Linked DNA regions of Homo sapiens: regions 1, 2 and 4 are each linked to region 3. The links are contacts of gene promoters, found by promoter capture Hi-C in blood cells and fetal thymus (Javierre and others, 2016). All regions are on one chromosome and are shown on one strand. Each heading gives the region's core, a stretch centred on a gene start or on the middle of the fragment in contact. The rest is flanking DNA. Distances are from core to core; before and after follow the strand shown.

The links. Contacts are between HindIII fragments. The CHiCAGO score rates a contact against its expected background, and 5 or more counts as called.
Region 1: a contact is called between a fragment that was not itself captured here and the fragment with the promoter of BMPER in region 3, in 1 of 17 cell types (endothelial precursors). The highest score is 6.3, in endothelial precursors.
Region 2: a contact is called between a fragment that was not itself captured here and the fragment with the promoter of BMPER in region 3, in 1 of 17 cell types (endothelial precursors). The highest score is 5.2, in endothelial precursors.
Region 4: a fragment that was not itself captured here is called in contact with the fragment with the promoter of BMPER in region 3 in 2 of 17 cell types (endothelial precursors and megakaryocytes); the score reaches 7.8 in endothelial precursors.

What each region holds. Positions count from the first base shown.
Region 1 is chr7:33,411,030-33,414,089 of GRCh38, reverse strand. The region is part of intron 19 of BBS9 (Bardet-Biedl syndrome 9); the gene reads right to left. Among named protein-coding and RNA genes, the nearest start is that of BBS9, 280 kb to the right of the region's middle. The HindIII fragment of the contact is 3,243 bases long and covers 1-2,948 here.
Region 2 is chr7:33,470,010-33,472,980 of GRCh38, reverse strand. The region is part of intron 19 of BBS9 (Bardet-Biedl syndrome 9); the gene reads right to left. Among named protein-coding and RNA genes, the nearest start is that of FLJ20712, 250 kb to the left of the region's middle. The HindIII fragment of the contact is 1,958 bases long and covers 489-2,446 here.
Region 3 is chr7:33,904,269-33,907,122 of GRCh38, reverse strand. It overlaps BMPER (BMP binding endothelial regulator), which reads right to left and starts at 1,584. Exons shown (of 15, transcript NM_001365308.1): 1 at 1,377-1,584; 2 at 220-305. The coding sequence starts at 1,509. The HindIII fragment of the contact is 6,002 bases long and covers 1-2,854 here.
Region 4 is chr7:33,436,047-33,438,949 of GRCh38, reverse strand. All of the region lies in intron 19 of BBS9 (Bardet-Biedl syndrome 9), which reads right to left. Among named protein-coding and RNA genes, the nearest start is that of FLJ20712, 290 kb to the left of the region's middle. The HindIII fragment of the contact is 1,131 bases long and covers 704-1,834 here.

The DNA of each region.
Region 1 (3,060 bases), core at 78-2,577, 490 kb after region 3:
TCTTCTTCAGTTTGGTTTTTGGTTTTTTGTTTGTTTTCGTTTTTTGTTTTGTTTTGTTTTGTTTTGAGAGGGAGTTTTGCTTTTATTGTCCAGGCTGGAGTGCAATGGCGCATTATCAGCTCACCGCAACCTCTGACTCCCAGGTTCAAGAGATTCTCCTGCCTCAGCCTCCTGAGTAGCTGGGATTACAGGCATGCACCACCATGCCCGGCTAATTTTTTTGTATTTTTAGTAGAAATGGGGTTTTTCCATGTTGGTCAGGCTGGTCTCAAACTCCTGACCTCAGGTGATCTGCCTGCCTCGGCCTCCCAAAATGCTGGGATTACAGGCGTGAGCCACTGCGCCCGGCCTGGTCTGGCTTTAATTCACTATAAACAAGGGGCCAATAGCCAGTCCCTGTCTTTAGCTCCTCATATCCACATTCTGTTTTTTTTTTACACGCAACTGTTGGCTCTCTCCAGCTGTGCTAGGTGGTCTTGTAAGACAAGACCATGAAGGAAGGCACATTCTGTTGGCAAACCCCATAAGATGCTCTGAAAACAGTGATATTGATGTACTTACTAATGAAGACAGTGTGAGGGAATACTTAAAGAATCGCCTGCACATTTTCTATGCCGCATCAACTCATAAAATTAGTAATAATCAGCTAATTTATATTAAGGCCTTAAAATACTCCTATTCTTTGACTTTGTAATTACCATTGTAGAAACCTATCTTAAGAAAATAATCTTTATTTAAAAAGAATAGTCAAAAGAAAAAATTAAACTCAGCCTGTCTTAATAAAGGAATGTTAATTAAATTATCATTCATGGTCCCAGTGGTTTCTCCACCTAAATAAAACTGATAGTTAAAACAGCTGACAGTAGGAGTGAGACTGCAAGGATTTTTAGATACTGAGAGTTGTAGGAATGCCTGCTTCTCCACCTTTACTATTGAAACTGTATTTTCTCTGAGTCAGTTCTTGATTGAAGGCTATCAGAACTACCATCTAACTCATTACCCAGTGTTAACTAAGAGGAGTCCAGAAAAATTAACTCATAGTAAAAAATGACTCTTTTTCTAGGTCGTGAGTATCCAATTGTTCCATAACATTCCCTACTAAACTATATCAAACATTGTAGTCAACAGCTTTCAAAATTTTACATAAAATCATTTTTTATTTTAAGAATAAAAGGCTAACTCAAGGAAGAATGGTATCAAGCTAGAAAGCAAAATTTGAAAAGATGAAGTACTTTATAATGTCACTTCTAGTCCTATGATTCAGGCTCATGAAAAACATGCTTTAAAAAGAACTGTATACCTAATTGGGATATAGCAAGTAATTTACCTCAAATGATATAAGCGTAAACTTTCAAAGGTTTGCAACTTAACACCAGAAAGATGATGAGACCTATTCTTCTTCCAAGATGACAATTGCTTTTTAAGCAAAAAAGGATCTTAAAAATTCCATAGTGACAAAACTGGGAGTCCCAAAACAACTTGATAGTTAAAACACAGTCAAAGCAAAGGAGTACTTTCCACAGCAGCTGCAATGACTGCTGAACTCCAGGAATAGGAATGATAAGCATAGGCATGCAAGTTGTAAAGTGCATATCTCATTAGCAAAATAATTTCCTGGTCCCAGGGAAATTACTGGCAGAAACAGAAGGCATACCTTCAGAAACTCACTGAAGAAATGCCAGTTGCCCTTGGGACAGGACCAGAGAGCTCAACAAATGTGTACTGAGCACCTAGAATGCATCACACCAGGCTCTATGTTAAGCACTGTGGCACAGGAGTGAACGTTAGGTCTGGCAGTTAGTCCTACTCTGGAGATGAACTAAAAACAGACTGAAAATCCAATTCAACTAAATTGTGCAGTATTTACCTGCTAAATAGTTTGACGTCTTGGAAGAAAAAATGACATAGAAGCATGGCTATGAATTTTTTTCTAACAAAATGGGTTCTATTACAAAAATACATTAGAATAATCTATTGTTGAGCTATACAGTTCCTATTAGTCACTAGTGATTTCAACCAAAATGATTTTCACATAATACATTTTAGTTTAAAAAAAAAGTATGATGCATCTGCTCATATTTCACTTAAGCACCATTTTATTTTTTCAGATATTTAAATAATCATCCTCAATGGTAAATGACTACCATAAGGAGTAACATTTGTCCATGCTTATAATTATTATCTGTATAAAACATCGTGCTCCTTGAGGCTATACACCATATTATAAACATCTTTATATACCTCCTCTAATCATAAAGACCCCTACACAGAGTAGCTGCTTGATAAATATTTGATAGCACAATCCTTTAAATTGAATCTCTTAATCCCTAAATTTTAATGATCAAATAATATTCATTCTAAGAGGTTTTTTCCCTAGTATCCCCAAATATTCTTACATATTACATTGAACATTTGTAGACTGAATAACACTTTTAAGACTCAAAACTACCATAAAATGTATTTCCTAGGATGAATCAATAGAAGTTTAATTAAGTACATATATAAGTTTATATAAAAAGCAATAAAAATACACAATTTTTGCGTTGTTTCTTGAAATCTGATCAAAATCTAAGTTTAAATTTACATGTATAGGAAAAAGGAATAAATGTGGTTTACTTCAAGAAGACAGTCTTGCAAAGTTTTTAAAATAGCTCCACAAAACACAAAGATTGCATCTGTATTGAGTGTGTTTAACAATAGGTTTGTGGACAAGCAAGAGTGTTGAAACCTTGTCAAGAAATATTTTAATATTAAAAAACTATGTCAACCCTTGTTCTACTCATGACTGAACTTGATACAATCAAGAAAAATTAGTTTCGGATGTGGGATACTTCAGGGATTTGAAGTAGTTTGCTAAATAGGAAGCTAAATCCAATTACTTTTATGAAGATTTGGCATCTGCAACTGAAAACCAACATTCCAATTAACATTAGACAAATATCCAAGCTTATCCACATGTTCCAGGCATCCTTTCCGGCTAAAAGAAGGCTGCATTTCTGCATATAATTATTCCCGTATGCATATACAGGGTCTGCACTATATTGGAGATATATAAAGCAA
Region 2 (2,971 bases), core at 218-2,717, 430 kb after region 3:
CAGGAACTAGATCAATACCCAGCCAAGTCACCATGAAGAAGAGTTCTTGGGATGAATCATTTTATTACATATTTGACCAAGTGGAAAAGCAATTTGTTCTGTGATTATGGTCACTGACACTGTTGACAATGTTTATCATGTGGCAAGTTCCACAAACAATAAAGTATACGTGTTCACTACAGGAAAAAAGTAAGGGTGGTTGAGAGAGTGGGGGTAATGCTACCGTATGTTAGGATCCAAGAACTACAAGATAAAAAGAAGCCATTTGGCCCAAATAGCTTACACAATTAAATATGCCATTAATTTCAACTATAAACTCTGCTTGTCGATGTATTCTACAATTACCTCTTTGCTAAAGAATCTCTCAAGCAGTTAACTAATGCCAGGCCTGCTAGGGACAGCCTGTCTATAAACACTACCTAACCTCCATGTTATCTACCATCATGCCCTCATCTAATTAGATCTGAGCAGTCACCCGGCTTCAAGCTTACTTATTACATTTGGCCCATTTACTAGAATTAGATACAGAATCTTCTCTGAGAGATATTTTCTCAAGTATTGCATAAGAAATCAGTGCTACATATTTTTCTGGAAAATGATCCTCCTTATGAATTTTGCTTTGCTATTATCCACTATAATATCAAAAAACAAATAAAATCCTCCATGATCAAGGTCTAGGCCTTTATCCAAGATTCTCATTTGCTCCTCATCTACTTCTTTTCCCTCAGAACTTAATAAACTTACCTGGACATCTTCACAGTGCTTTAGATATGCCTATTGCCTCTGAAGAAATAAAAATATCATTTCTCTGCAAGAGTCACTATTTATCCTTGAGCAATCACTCCTACACCCTCTGGCTTACTTCGCTAGTTCTCAGTCAGAGCCTACAGAAAGATTAGATGAATAAATGTTCCTCTAGAAGTTTCTCTGTCAGTCAAAAGGTCCTAAGAGGAAAGTGGGGTTTTTTTTGCCCTAAGAAATGACTAGGAGAACAATCCCTAGTGAGTAATTTTAGGCACTTGTGGTCAGAGGCAATCTGGCCTGAAGAAATCCTCAGCCTGAGCCACCATTACCAGTCTGCTCTACCAGCTGTGCGGAACCCTGGCTTCCCATAAAATCAACTTCAGTGACCTGGTGGCAGTTCATGGTTTTGAAAATTCCACTTTAAATGGAAATTTTCAAAAATGGTTCTGTTGCTCTGGTTTGCTGACAACCAACCTTTACAAATTTGGCAAGAACCCTCTGTTGCCCAGCTGCCTCTGATTTACTGTCCCTGGGCACAGTCTCCAGCGTGGCTGTTGGGCTCTATACAGCTAACACTGCCATTGCCTCTGGCAATGTGGTGTGGTGGAAAGCACAGTGGACAGCTAAGGAGACCTGGGATCAGTCCTGCTTCTGTCACTAATGAGAATGCCCTTCTAGATCTTAGTTTCTGCATTTCTAAGCTCCCTTCTAGGTCTAGTCATACTGTTGTTCCACCTGCAGTTATGAGCACCTACTATGGACTATACGTGTAGCAAGGGATACAAGTCACAAACCCCAGCCTCAGGGAGTTCTAATGATACTCTGACTCTATGAACAGCCAACTTGCCATTTTTTATGCTAAGACAAGAAATACTAATGAATGATAAAGCCAAAATCAATTCCAACATCTCATTTTGGCCAACTCTTTTTAAACTTCACCAACTTCTTTACAAACAAATAGGTAACAATTTTAGAATAAATGAAAGACCATCACTTGCAGCATTTCTTCCCCCATCCCACTATGACTGTACATTTAAAAATCAAGTAAAAGGAGGATGAAACAGGAGAAACAGCTTGGATAAGTCAGCAATTAGATAACTAGCCACTGGAACAACCAAGAGTTACCCAAGTTGATGCTGAAGGAAAACATACTTTTTAGTGATACCAGCTAAAAGTGTCAGATTATTCCACATGTGAAGATGTCACATTGAAGACTGGTTAATGAATAATCCGCAGGAAAATGAACCTGTATCAGTATGTGGCACGATGGCATTATAGAATCTACTATGTATCAGCAGTATCTATTTCTCAGCCGTTTTCTATCCCTCCCATCTTTTGAAAAGCCTACTCAAAACTCATCATCTATCCTCTAACCCCAGGACACCCCCCTGAATGAGTGTCCTTCAGGATGTCCATTTAGCTGCCCAGGTCTCCACAGAACACAGCTGGCCCAAGGATTCTCTTACATTATTCATGTGTTGCTTTGTGAACTTGTGTGTGATTGTTCTTCTACAGTGGACTTTAAATCCTCCAGAGGTAGTATATTATAACCCACGGTGAGCAGGCACTAAGTATTTTCTGCCTCCCTGGCTTTGCATCTTCTAAAGTCTATTATGCTAAGATATAAATCCAGTACAGCTTTGAAAATAGAGAATTCATCACTGATCGTTGGCATCGTACATATCAATAGAGGAACAAAGCTTGCTATTTTCACGGAAAATTGGAGGATAATCTACAAGAGAACAATAAATAGGGGTGGTAAAAAAGTGAAGGGGTAGAAATGGAATCTACGTTAGAAGATTAGGGAGAGAAGCTGAATAGCAATAGAAAAAAATATATATTTTAGAAGGTCCAGAAGTGATTTTTTTAAAAAATAAAAAACCTAGATTCTAGCTTCCCCTATAATTGAGTGACCTGTATCAAATCATTTTATCTGAGAAAAAAAAAGAATGCTGGTGTTCAATGTTTACAAAAATCTAGGAAACTAATATGAAAATAAATGTAAAAATCTGGAAAAAATATTCTTGTAATTCTATATTGTTATGAAAAGGCAAAGTAGTACCACAGTTGGATTTAGTACAATAAGCACTTCTTGAGGACCTGCCATGACCCCAGGCATTGTAGTAAGTCCTCAATTCCAAAGATGAGCAAGACATGGCCTCTACCCTCGAAGAGCTTACATTCTAGTTCCAAGCCCAACAAAGGCTTTCTCAGAACAAATTCAATT
Region 3 (2,854 bases), core at 335-2,834:
TGATGTCAAAGATAAGAATTTCCAGCTGGATGAAATGGAAATTGCCAAAGTCCATAAAACTCAGAAATTAACTGGATTCAACTCACAAACTATGTACAGTTATGTGCAATTTTGTAATGATAAAGACAATTTGTAAGATCTGGTTATATTATCACATTTAATGGATTCACCTTATCAGAGAGAGCAGTTGAGTTCATATTACCTGATCTCCACACTTACCAAGCAGACACACATTATGCAAGGGTTGTCTGTGATAAATGGAATCTGGAGGACTTCACCTTCATTTTCACATTTTGCAACAGAACCTGAAATTCAGGGGGGAAAAATGTTTCATTTAAAGTTAGCTTAGCAGCATGATTTCAACATTTAAAATTTTTACACTAATCCTTTTTGAAACCTCTACCCAAACTTCAGAATTCTTAATGTGGTTTAAATTATTAAATTCACCAAAGCAAAACCTCTGCCCCCAACTCCATTTTCAATAATTTTATTTAAACAGGTTCAAAAAAGAAAAGACTATGATATAGGGATAAATTATCTGTTCTCAGATGGTCTAAGCACAATTCCAAGTATTTCACTGGATTTTTAATAACACTCCTCCTTTATGAAGATATTTCAACTAAGCACACAGCCCCATACGCAAAGAAAAAAATAAAAAATAAAATTTAAAAAAACCCTCAAATTGGGGCAGATTTTAAATTGACCAAAACTCAGAACTGAGTCAATAAACAGGCCTTTCTATGAATCTGTCTCGCATTGTCTTAGGTTTAAATCACTTTTTGAAACGCAATCCCCTTTTCCCTTCTCTTAGAAATTGACTCCATATTTTCTTTTCTGCACCAGGTGTCAGTAAAGTATGTCCTTCAGAATAGCAGCTGAGGTCTTCACCTGCCTGAAAACATATAATTATTATATCCGGCTATTAGTGCCCTTTTTAAATGATAGTTTCTTTAAATTCAAGGTCTTGAGAGCCAGTGCTTTAAAAAGCACTCCTAGCACAGTGGATGTATTGCAACCCCAAAGATGAGAAAGGAAGATGTGCGGAAAACTGCACAAATTTTTTTCCTGAGTTCTACAGAGGGAAAGATTAAAATAAAAGTTGAGGAAAGCATTAAAAATAAATAAAATAATTTCTCAAATTCAAATAGAAGAATGTCTATTATTACTACATTGAAGGCAACAGCCTCTCAGCCCGCAACCTCTTCACCAGCCTTCCCAGCCCTCCCGGGGCTTCGCTTCATCCCCATCGACCAGCGCAGGGCAAGCGCCAAGGTGCGCGCTCCCCACCCTCCCATCCCCGGGGCAAGCCAGCGCCACCTTTCCCAGGTACCAAACCGGCGTCCCGGAGGGCCGGTCCCTCCCGCCCCCTCCCCTACCTGTCAAGAAGGAGGAAGCCAGAGACATGGGGACCCCCGAGCAATTGAGTAGCAGCAAGACGCAGCACGTAATCCCAGGCGAGCGGCGGCAGTAACGCTCAGCCAGAGCCCCGACGCCGGAGAACCAGAGCATCGTCACCTGGAGGGAATCCCTGGCGACTGCAGGTCCCGCGCCGCCGCCTCTGCTCAGCTGCCGCAGCTCACAGTCGAAAAGGGCTCTCAGCCGGCGTGTCGGGAGACCGTCCGCGAAGGAGGGAGGCGGGCGCCCGAGAGCTGGGGGGCGGGGGGGTGTGAGGGAGGGCGGGGGGAGAGACCAAGGTGTGGGGGCGCCCGGGGAGGAGGGGTCCTGCGGCCAGGCTCCTCCGATGCGGCTTTTTTTTTTTTTTTCCTGAGGGAGTTGCTTGCAGTGGCTTAGCAGTCAGCCCCTCAGCGCCGGAGAGGGGGCCAGGAGGAAGGGGTGTTGCGGCAGCCGGAGATAGACTGAGAGGAGCTGCGGCGCTGCCGACTGCGCACTGCCGCTCAGCCGCCGCCCGGGCTGCCGCTACTGTTTCGGGGGCTGTCGCTGTCGCTGCCGCAGCGTCCTCCACTCCCGCACTCCTCACCTCCTGCCAGCCCCGCCGGCTCTCGGCCCTCCCGGAGCGCGCTCGCTCCGCCGCAACAGACGTGGGCTCACCGGGCGCCTCCCGGAACCCGCTGGGGGCGCCCGGGCGCAGGAGGGACTGCGCGATAGCTGCAGCGGGAACTCTCTCGGCCCAGCTTCCAGTTCCCCAGCCCCTCCAGGGAGGCCAGGGCCCCAGGGCGCGGACCAGAGCCGAGAAGGCGCGTCTCCACTGTCCGGGCGAGCGCGGCTCCTCCTCCCTTTCTTGGGGGAGCCCCGGGGATGCCGCAGCACTAGCGCTCAGGCCCGGGTGCCCCAATCCAGCGAGGGAGCAGCAAACGGGACGCAGGGGCGCCCCACCACCCTGCTCGCTCCCGGGTGCCCCACCTTTGGGAAGGAGCGACACACCCGGGGCAGTAGGGCCCCCGCAACTTTTCATGCCCTGCTTTGCTTCCCTCTGGCGGGGGCGCGACAGCGAACTCAGGGGGCTGAGCGGACAGAGGGGCAAGTGGCCTTAGAGATGTGTTCTGTGCTTAGCTGTCTGCGCGTCCTGACACTAGGGATGACCGAAGTTGAAACACACACAAGGTCGATTTAAAAACGTACCGAGGCAAACGCCTTTCGTCCTTAAAAAATGAACAGTCGCTCCGAGACTCCTCCCTTCCAATCTCGGGCGGACCGGGGCGGGGAGGTGGTGTTTGACTAATCATTCATTCACCCGAAAAGAGGGAGGAACCCCCGCCCCACCGCTCATCTCTGGCGGGGGCCGCCGCGCGGCGGCCTCTGCAGCTCGGAGCTCCGTCGCTCTCTCAGCCCGGCTGCGCCCTCTCGCCTCTGCAGCACTGGGTGTCGGGGAGTCAGCTCCTGTGATCCCCCTGCT
Region 4 (2,903 bases), core at 20-2,519, 470 kb after region 3:
CAATTATGATAAACTAAGGTTGTAAGAGACTCCTTCATCAGCTTTAGTCATGATAACTTGCTGAACTAACTGTTCCAATGGAAGAAGAGAATAGCAGCATATGAGAACATTCGCCAGCTTTGTGAAATGAATATCCTGTGTTCTTTCTTTCTCAGCATTGTGTTTTTGAGACTGCGTTAAATATTAGCATGTATATAGCCCAAGTTCTTTCATTTAACTGCTCTCCAAATACTGTATCTAATTGTGCTCCTACAAGTAGTGTATGGGAATTTGTCATTGCTCCATGTATTTGCCAACACTTCATCCTATCAGAAATTTCCCTTTTTCTTCAGTTTGATATGTATGAAATGGATTTTCCCTATGGGTTTTAATTTCTACTTCTCTGATTACTACCAAGGTTAAGCATCTTTCAATGTCTTTTGGCAGCTTACATTTTCTCCTTCAGAATTTTCTACACATATCCATTGCCTAATTTTTCTACTGGACCCGTTATTCTTAATTATGTCGGATTCTTTACATACTCCTTTCCTGGTAGAATGAATTAAAAATATCTTATCTTAATTTTGTACCTGGTTTCCTTTGTTATACAAAAGTTATATTTCAATTTAGTCAAATTTATCAATCTTTGATTTTAAAGGTTGGCTGTGCTTTTTATAACTTGCTTAGGAAGTCCTTCCCTACCCTGAGGTTAAAAATATAAGCTTCTCCCTTTTCTTTTAAAAGGTATATGTTTCCCATTTAGGCATTTAATTTACTTGAGATTTATTTTTGTTTATGGTATGAGGTAAGGATCCAATTGCATTTTTTATATATAGATAGCCAATTGGTTTAGTTCTGTGGTATTTTAAATAAAAACACCACAATATGTTCATTATGGCCCTTATCACCAGGTGTTACAATATGCTTTTCTGCATTTTGTTGACAGTGAGTTAGAATTACGAAAGAGAGCCTATGTGTTTTTCATTTCTATATTTCAAAACTTAACACCATGTCCAGCAAAAATGTTGAAAAAGTTGCAAAAGCTGTTCAAAACAGCTGTACAAAAGCTGTGGGGTTTTTATTTGTTTTGTTTTTGCAACGGAGTCTCACTCTGTTGCCCAGGCTGGAGTGCAGTGGCAGGATCTTGGCTCAGTGCAACCTCTGCCTCCCGGGTTCAAGCAATTCTCCTGCCTCGGCCTCTTGAGTAGCTGGGATTACAGGTATGCAACACAGTGTCCGGCTAATTTTTTTTTATTTTTAGTAGAGACGGAGTTTCACCATGTTGGCCAGGCTGGTCTCAAACTCCTGACCTCAGGTGATCCGCCCACCTCGGCATCCCAAAGTGCTGGGATTACAGGCATGAGGCACTGCCCAAAAACTGTTCTTAAAGATATGCTGGACATATACACAGTTATCTAAGAAGCTATGACTTCTTGTGTAGTAGTAATCTTCAATATAAATCAATCTGTATTTCCAGGTAAAGAATTTATGTGAAATTCAAAAGAATTTTCCCCTCAGAATTGGAAATGTGTCTGACAGATAACACTCTGATGCTTCTCTATATATCCATTAAAAATACCCTGGAGTTAACCTGATATAGCACTTGGCTCTATTTGATGATCACTCTCAGGTCGCTGTTTGGAAAGAAGACTGGTGTGGGAGCAGAGAGGTCAGCTGCGTGGCCTTTCACAAAGGGTGAGCCATGCTCTGACTCCAAAGAGGTTAAATGCCAAGGCAAGTTTCAGTTATCTTAACTCAATTTACCTCAATAGAAATAACCTAAATTAGATGGTTTCTAATTACCCTTCTAGACAAGGATTAAATGTCTGAGATGGGGCTAAAGCAGAGACAAGCTTGTGATGGACAGATAGATTCCAAAAGACTGGTCCAATTGACACTTAAAAGCTGTAGATGGTTTCTTTTTCCTTTATTCAATCCCTGATATTTTAAATCATATATTAAATTTCCTCACTCATGTACAAATCTCACCACCAAAGTTCATGTTAAATAAACTATGTCACAGTTACAAGTCAAGTTACACAGAAATTATCTCAGATGGCTAATGCTTTATAACTTATGTGTTTTATACAGTATTCCATGCTTAAGTAAATTCAAGATAATCTGGAAAACATTTATCTGGCATCTATTAACAATGAGAACACTTACTAACATTTAGGGATATCAGTGAAGAAGACACGTCCCCTTCCGTTAATCAGCTCACAGCTTTGTTAACAAAACAGATGTGTAGTCAAGTAATTGCAACACAGCGTTATCAATGCCATGGTCAAGGTGGATCTAAAAAGTTGATGGCAGAGAGAACAGCTTGACTTCAAAGGGAGTTACCAATGGAGGTGAGTCTTAACAAATAAATTCATTTTAAATAATTTCAACAAATTCAGAACCTTTGGTTTGAACTTGAAAAACAAAATGTTTTTATTCATTATTTCTAATATGAGTTTGAGATTATAAATAATGTAATTACAAGTATCAATTATATAATCCTTAGGAAACTAACTTTCTGAGGAATGATCACCTGAAGTTAGAAGACAGATGATTCAAAGTTGGGGCAGTGATCAAGGGGCTATTACATTAATCATTAATAATAACAAAGTAAAGATTTTAACCGATGAGCATCTTTCATCAAGTACACTACAACACACTTATTTCACAATGCAAAAACATGATCTAAGTTCACATCACCAGCAATAGCAATGGTGTATGTTTTGCTACAGGGCTCCCACATCTCTAGGATTCAGGGAGTCCTTAAGTAGCAGAAACACAGTAGGTAATGGCAAACCAACAACTCCTGCTTAAGTAGGGCAGCCCAAACTGTGTTGGCTCCAGCTTTAGTACAGCAACCTACTTGGAAGTTAGCGAGCTGACCTGTCTTAAAGTTGCACTTGCACGGCACTTTACAAAAAAGA